2 separate regions of the Homo sapiens genome follow, and region 2 is linked to region 1. The links are contacts of gene promoters, found by promoter capture Hi-C in blood cells and fetal thymus (Javierre and others, 2016). All regions are on one chromosome and are shown on one strand. Each heading gives the region's core, a stretch centred on a gene start or on the middle of the fragment in contact. The rest is flanking DNA. Distances are from core to core; before and after follow the strand shown. Region 1 holds the start of LINC02860 (long intergenic non-protein coding RNA 2860). Region 2 overlaps SNX10-AS1 (SNX10 antisense RNA 1).

Region 1 (3,872 bases), core at 1,012-3,511:
TGCATGCAATGTGGTGTGTATGTGTGTGGTGTGTGTGGGGTGTGAATATGCTTCTATGTGTGTGTATGTTTTGTGCGATGTGTGTGGTGGGTGCCTATGTGTGATATGTATGTGTTGTGTGTGTGATATGTATGTGTGTGGATGTATGTGTGTGGTGTATACTTGTGTGTGGTGTGTATTTGTGGTGTGTGTATATGTGTGTGGTGTGTGTATATGTGTGTATGTGTATGTGTGTAGTGTGTGTATATGTGTGTATGTGTATGTGTGGTGTGTATGTGTGTACGTATGTGTGGCAGGTGTGTGTGTGCTTGTGTATGAAGCGTGTGTGGTAGGTGTGTGTGTTTGTGTATGATATGTGCATGTGGTGTGTCTGTGTATGACGTGTGTGGTCTGTGTGTGTCTGTGTTTGTGTATGATGTGCGCATGTGTCTGTTTGTGGTGGGTGTGTGTGGGTGTGTGCTTATGTCTGTGTGTGTCTGTGTTTGTGGTGTGTGTGGGGGGGGATGTATGTGCACATGTGTGTTTGTGTCAGCCAGCCCTGGCTCGCACAGGCAGAGCAGACCACCTCCACAGTGTGACCTGAGGAGCAGTGGCCCTCAAACACCTTTCCCACCATGTGTCATGACACTGCCAACTCCTCCATTAATTTCTCTAAATCAAGGCAGTGATTCCATTTCCTAGGAACTCTCTCAATTACATTTCAAATACCCCTGTATCCATTTGCTAGGGCTGCCATAACAAAATACCACGGACCAGGGCCTTAAACAACAGGCATTTATTGTCTTACAGTTCTGGAGGCTGGAAGTCCAAGATCAAGGCGTAGGCAGGGTTGGCTTCCCCGAGGCCCCTCTCCCTGGCTTGCAGGTAGCCGCCTTGTCTCTGTGTCCTCATGTGTCTTGTCTCTGAGTGTGCACATCTCTGGTGTCTCTTCCTCTTCTTAAAAGGACACCAGTCAGATTGGGTTAGGGCCCATCCACAGGACCCCATTTTAACTTAATCACTTATTCACAGGTCCTATCCAGAGTTAGATTCTGAGGCGCTGGGGGTTAGGGAAGCAGCATAGAAATTTTGGGGAAAAGCAATTCAGCCCATAGCAGCCCTGAGAGAGGTAACACACTAGACTGCTTCGGGGTCACAGGAATGACATTTGCGGCTCCCTTGCTGCACATCTGCTGCTTGAGGGTGGGTCTTTAGGGGATAGTGGGGCTTTTGATAGATGGCCGACCTGGGGCAGGGCAATTCCGGAGCAGAGGGCTCTGACTCCCTGTGAAGGAAGGACCCTGGCTGGAGGATCCCCACCTATGCTCCAAGGTGGTAGCCCTGGGCCTATGAGGGGACCATCACGATGTGGGAATGGGATGCAGGGAGTGGAGCTGAAAGCCCACCAGAGACAAACCCGACTAACTACCCTTCAGTTTTGCCCAAGACGCTGTTCACTTCAACTCATCCATTCATGGAAGTAACTTTCCTGCCAAGCTCTCTTCCTCTGGTGATGGTGGAGATTCTATACACTTTCTTCATGGTCTCTCAGCCAGCGGCAGCTTCTGGGCCCACCTTGCTTCACTCCCCATCCATACCCAGCAGGGGCTTCCTAAGGAACTGTATTAGTCGGTTCTCACACTGCTATAAGGACATACCTACGATTGGGTAATTTATAAAGAAAAAGATTTAATTGACTCACAGTTCCGCAGGGCTGGGGAGGCCTCAGGAAATTTATAATCATGGCGGAAGGAGAAGAAAACACTTCCTTTGCGACGTGGCAGCAGCGAGAAGTGCAGAGGGAAGGAGGGGAAAGCCTCTATAAAACCATCAGATCTCGTGAGAACTCACTTGCTATCACGAGAACCGCATGAGGGTAACCGCCCCCTTGATTCAACTACCTCCCTCCGGGTCCTTCCCAGGACACATAGGGATAATGGGAACTGCAATTCAGCATGAGATTTGAGTGCGGACACAGCCAAACCGTATCAGGAACTTATGTGATTAAGCAGTACATTTGAAGAGGAAATGGTTGAGCCGTTGTTATAAGATGCTTCCCAGAGCTTTGCGGTGTCCAGCATTCTGACATCAACGTAGGGTTTCTATCAAGTAGTTGGGCTGTCAGTCTACCACCAGCAAATAAACCTGACCCTCTAAAGGCTGATAGAAAGAAACATCCCATAAGGGGTAGCTCTTCCCTTTACATTACCACCTACCTCAACAATGAGGTCAGCGGGATAGAGCAGAAATTGCACTGGGCTGGAAACCGAGATCCTACTGCTGATTTTGTCTCCAAGTGACTTTGTGACCTCATATAAGTCATTTAACCTTCGTGGGCCTCTTTCCTCGTGAAGGAAATGATGAAAGTGAGTGTTGGAACAATCTGTGATACTCAGCGGCAGGAAAGCTCACCCAGAAGGCTGAAATCTGCATACATAAATAACTCGAAAACAAAGCCATGCTTGGTCCTTTTTTATTTAGTTCAATCAACATATCTCATCTAATGTTAAAAGAAAGGACATAGGATTTTTTTAAAGAAATTTTTGTTTTGAACTAATTTTAGACTTACAGAAAAGTGGCAAAAGTAATATATACTTTCCTTATATCTCTTCTATCATTTCCCCTGATATCACCATCTTATATAACCATAGTACAACTATTAAGAACTGGAAATTAACATCGGCACAATGTAACTAACTGAACTACAGTCCTATTTGAAACTCACAATTTTTTTCCACTAATGTCCTTTTTTTCTGCTCAGGATCTAATCTAAGATCCTAAATTGCATTTAGCTGTATTTCTCCTTCTTCTCCTCCACTGGGTAACGGTTCCATGGTCTCTCCTTTACTTTCATGACCCTGACACTTTGGAAGAAAATGGATCGGTTCCACAGGAGAATATCCCTCAGTTTGGGTTTGTTTGTGCATTCTCATGAGTGGGGTAAGGTTATGCCTTTTTGGTGAGAATACACAAAAATCATGGCACATCTTCCTCAGTGCATCATTCAAGGGGTTCATGAGAGCCACATCTTATAACTGGTGACATTGATCTTGGTCACTTGATTAAGGTGGTGTCTGCTGGGTTTCTCACTGTCAAGTTATTATCTTTCCCTTTGCAGTGGATAAGTATCTAGGCTGACGCTTTGAGACTAGGCATGGCCTGTTTGTCCTCCAGCTTTCACTCACCAGTGCTAGCATCCCTCAGCAGATCTTGTCTGCAGTGCTCACTCTGTGGAGTCCTGTCCTCTTCCCTTCTACATGTATTCATTGGCGTTCCACTGTGCAGAAGCGCTGTCTTTTCTCCTTCATTATTTATGTGGTTTTTGTTTGTTTATTCATATCAGTGTGGATGTTTAATTATTGTATTTGTGGATGTTTTTAGTCTAGCTTAAAATGTAACGCTATCTTTATCTTGCTGCTCAGATCGTCTCAGCTCTTCGCTCTTTCACATTGGTTCCCGAGCTCTTTTGACAGACTCTTATCTTTATTTTGAGCATTTTCTTATTTTCTGGCACCACAAGATGTTTCAGACTGACCTTGTGTTTTCCATGTCCTGGCTTGGGAATCAGCCACTTCTTCACGATTCCTGGTTCCTTTTACAGGAGAATGGTGTGGAGAGACCAAGATCTATGTTGTAGATGGGTCCATTGTTATTGGAATGGTATTGCTTTTAAGCCCTCAAAACAGAGGGCTAGGTATATATGTGTGCATGCTAAGCTGCACAAACATACCCATCTACCTCTGTCTTCTTCTCTCCTGCCCTCTTTAAAGATCTTGAGTTCATAGTGATACCCATGATTCTAAGCTATACCACAGGAAATCATTTTATACTTGTTTCTTCTCTTATTTGTGACATCTTTCTCCAACAGTGAAAACCCTGGCTCTCATCATATA
Region 2 (3,872 bases), core at 606-3,105, 240 kb after region 1:
CGTGTGGCCACCGAGGCAAGCCGCGTGCGGGAGGGAACGCAGGCTTCACGGCGCCTCTCTTCTTGCCCTGGCTTGCTCCCTGGCAAGAAGTCACCTCCCGCCTTCTGATAGCTCCCCCTGTCACATTTGGGCCCCTTGTGAACTTCTCGAGGAGAGGAGCTAGGTCACTTTTATTAATAGCAACAACGACAGTAGTAAACATATGCTGAGGACTATTCTACGCAAGGTACTATGCCAACTGCTTTACCTACATGTTTATCACAGCGATCTTATTGCACTCCTGGAAACCCAGGCTTAGCAAAGCCTTGAAAGGTTCCCAGCATAACCCAGCTAAGGTGGGAGGGAGCACAGGTGAGAACCCAGGCCCCTCTACACTCTCAATCACTCTGCAGTATTTTCCGGGTCCTTCTTACAGCTCACACAACTGTCCAGCACTCCTTTGTCCCCCGAACGCATCACCCCCAGCCATCTTAGGCCGGGCCAGCCCCCCGCCCCCACCCTCACCCCCTCCCTCACCCCCTCCCTCACCCCCTCCCTCACCCCCTCCCTCTCCTTGGCCCAGAAGTAAATCCTAAGTAGTCTAAATCCGTTATGACCAACCCCTTCCCTTGCCCAGGCACTGGCTTAGAAAAGAGCATGTGACCAGTCCTGGCCAAGGCCAAGCCAGGGGACATCTGTTGGGGTTTTCTGGGAAATGCTTCCTTGCCCTAAAAAAAGACACCTCTAGCGATTCCAGTTTCTTCTGTTGTAGAATGTATATCCACCACCTGGCAACCACGGAGGAGCCAGGGAACAAAGTTAGTCTTTGCAGAGATTTACAGGATTAAGTGAGCTAACTCCAGGGTTAAAGTTTAGGAGAATCATGTTTTAGTCCTATCTCTACCTGCGATGGAGTCATGCTGCCTCGTGTTTATTCAGGGACATATTTAAAGTTAACTCCTTTTTGAAACGAGACAAGATAAAAAGATGTAAACAAAGGAAAACTCCAGAAATTTGGTCTTGTCTCCATTAAAGAGTGTCTGTTTCTAGGCACTTCAGTGGAACCTCTCACTTCCAGCTTCTCTTCCTGGGCACTCACCTCTAACTCATTCAGCTTTTTTCCCTCAAAGTAGCTCTTTGCCTACACAGGCAAGGCATCTCTTCCCTCCAGGAACATCAGAACCCCCCTTCTAACCCTCCTGCACCCACACACCCAGGCGTCTGAGCTTGACTGCCTTTGAAATGTTTACTGGCCTTCAAGTAGTCTCTTTGAAGAATTTGCATCTAATTTTGAACTTAGGGAAAATCGGGCATAACCAGTCACTTACTAGTTTCCTTGGCAACTACTTTAAAACAGAATCTAAATTGGAATGAAAATGGATTTTTATGGTTTCACTAAAATCATACACACTTTTCATGAAAATATACCAAAAAAACTATAAAAAATATATACATACTATATGCTTTATTCGTTTATCTGGAATCAATACACAGTAACTAACTCAAATATCTCTGTTCCCCACTGCTGAGGAAAGGCACTCCACACTCCCTTAGCAAGACATTTAAGACCCTCCACAATCTGCACCTAACCCAGCTCCAGCCTTATTTGTCTACTACAGTACATCCCCAAATCATGCTATTGCATTTCCTCTCCCATGACATTCTCTAGAATGCCCTTGAACTTCATGTCCAACTGTTCAAATATCACCGATCTTTCCAAGTCCAGATTAAATATCACCTCTTCCAAGAAGCTTTTCCCATTCCTCACATATAATGACACAAATTGAGTTACTTAGTGTTTATTTTCAGCAATATTTAGCATATTTTATTTACTGATACCCAGTATTGTTAAAATAATGCACATTTCCTAACAGTTGGGGGGCTTCAATATTACCATGCAAACAATTAAAATGAGTAATAAATATTATCAGCAGAATTGTATAAATCTTACTCCCAACTTAAGGCTGAGCTGTTCTGTCAGATGTGATAAAATAAAGCTTCATACGCTGCTTGTTTTTCTTAGGATAACTTTGATTTCAGTAATAGAAAACCTGTCTGTAGTAGCTTTAAAAATGAAGAAAATGTAGTATCTCATGTAGGAAGTACCAAGGTAGCAGATGCTAAGTTTGGTTAATTTAGTGGGTCAAAAATGTTTAATGTTGTCAAGTTTTTCTCGTCTTTCTGAAATTCTGCCATCCTCAGCTTGCTGACCTTGTCCTTAGCTAGTTCTCCTCAAGGTCTCAAAATGGCTGCCATAGTTCCAGGCATCACTTTAAGACATGGCAAAGGCCAGCCAAAAAAGTTGACTGTTCTCAAATTTTTTAAGAGTGGAGAAATTATACCAAAGATCCCTCAGATCTTTTCTCATTGGCCAGAACCAGGGCACGTGACTATCTCTAAACTACCACTGGCAAGAGAGGCAAGATTATCAGAATTGATAACTAATCAGGATTTAGTCTTGAATTATTTTGAGGGTAAGGGGAGCGGTGCAGGAGAGCAGGGAATTGACAGGACAGGCAATGCCAAAACAAAAGCTGAATTTTAGTCCGTTTCCCAGTCATCAATTTCTGCAGCCAAACTATCCCAAAGCTTAGTGGCTTAGAAACTTTTTTATTTTTTCTCTAGAATCTGGACAGGGCAGCTCCCAAGGAATAAGGAATAAGGGAGGATGGCTATTGAGTAGGCACTAAAAGTATCAGCAACTTTTCTTTTCTTTCTTTTTTTTTTTTTTTTTTTGAGATGGAGTCTTACTCTGTTGCCCAGGCCAAGCTGGAGTGCAGTGGCACCATCTCAGCTCACTGGAACCTCTGCTTCCCTGGTTCAAGGAATTCTCCTGCCTCGGCCTCCCAAGTAGCTGGGATTAAAGGCGCATGCCACCACGCCTGGCTAATTTTTGTATTTCTAGTAGACACGGGGTTTCACCATGTTGCCCAGGCTGGTCTCAAACACCCAACCTCAGGTGATCCTCCCACCTCGGCCTCCCAAAGTCCTGGGATTACAGGCGTGAGCCACCACGCCTGGCCAGTATCAGCGACTTATGATGGCTTTTTATTTGAAGATCAAAACCAATCACACTTTGATTATTCTTATATTGGTTCTTTCTACCAAAAAATAGTGTTTGAAAAAATGGTATATATTGATTTAGTCGATAGCAAACTGCTTGGCTGAATCCAATTGATATTTTCTTAGGGTGCAGTAAAATATTTGCTCTTTTGCTTTGCTTTCTCCCCACTAAATAACTAGCCATATTATGGATCCCACATAGGATTTTTCCTTTAACAATATGAATTCTTGACTGAATTAAGCCATTTTTGCCCTAAGTTCTTTAGTTTGTAGACATCTGAGAATTAAGTCAGGAGAATAGCAAATAATTATTTTAATTTAGCAAATAATGTAATAACTGGATTATTCACCATCAGAATATTCCTCTTTGAAAACGTGTAAATCATAGAAATGTTTGAAGATAAAATTATTAGTCATTCCCCTCTCGAAGGCAGATAGGAAAATTGTAACATGTAGTCTTTGTTTTGTAATGTCACTTCATTATCCTAAATAGGCCTTCTAGTTCTCTTTTAATTTATATATATTATAAATAATATTTTTATATATTTTATATATTTATATTATATAAAAATTATATAATATAAATAATATATATTATTTATAATATATTATATATATTTAAATATGTATAATATATATTTAAATTATATATATATATATATATGAGGTAAGAAAGTTCTTAAGTAGTGGCTAAGTCATGTCATTTATCTGGAGTCAATACACGGTAACTAACTCGAACGTCTCTGGTCCCCGCTGCTGAGGAAAGGCAGCCCACACTCCCTTAGTAAGACATTTTTAGTCATGTCATTTACTAAAATACCACATGGACT

What was found. The method cuts DNA at HindIII sites, captures the fragments that hold promoters and counts their contacts. A CHiCAGO score of 5 or more calls a contact.
Region 2: a contact is called between a fragment that was not itself captured here and the fragment with the promoter of LINC02860 in region 1, in 1 of 17 cell types (megakaryocytes). The highest score is 5.1, in megakaryocytes.

What each region holds. Positions count from the first base shown.
Region 1 is chr7:26,636,260-26,640,131 of GRCh38, reverse strand. LINC02860 (long intergenic non-protein coding RNA 2860) reads right to left here and starts at 2,261. Exons shown (of 4, transcript NR_161202.1): 1 at 2,196-2,261; 2 at 788-1,637. The HindIII fragment of the contact is 19,305 bases long and covers 1-3,872 here.
Region 2 is chr7:26,394,289-26,398,160 of GRCh38, reverse strand. All of the region lies in intron 1 of SNX10-AS1 (SNX10 antisense RNA 1), which reads left to right. Among named protein-coding and RNA genes, the nearest start is that of LINC02981, 2.3 kb to the left of the region's middle. RefSeq lists enhancers at 186-425, 1-456. The HindIII fragment of the contact is 246 bases long and covers 1,733-1,978 here.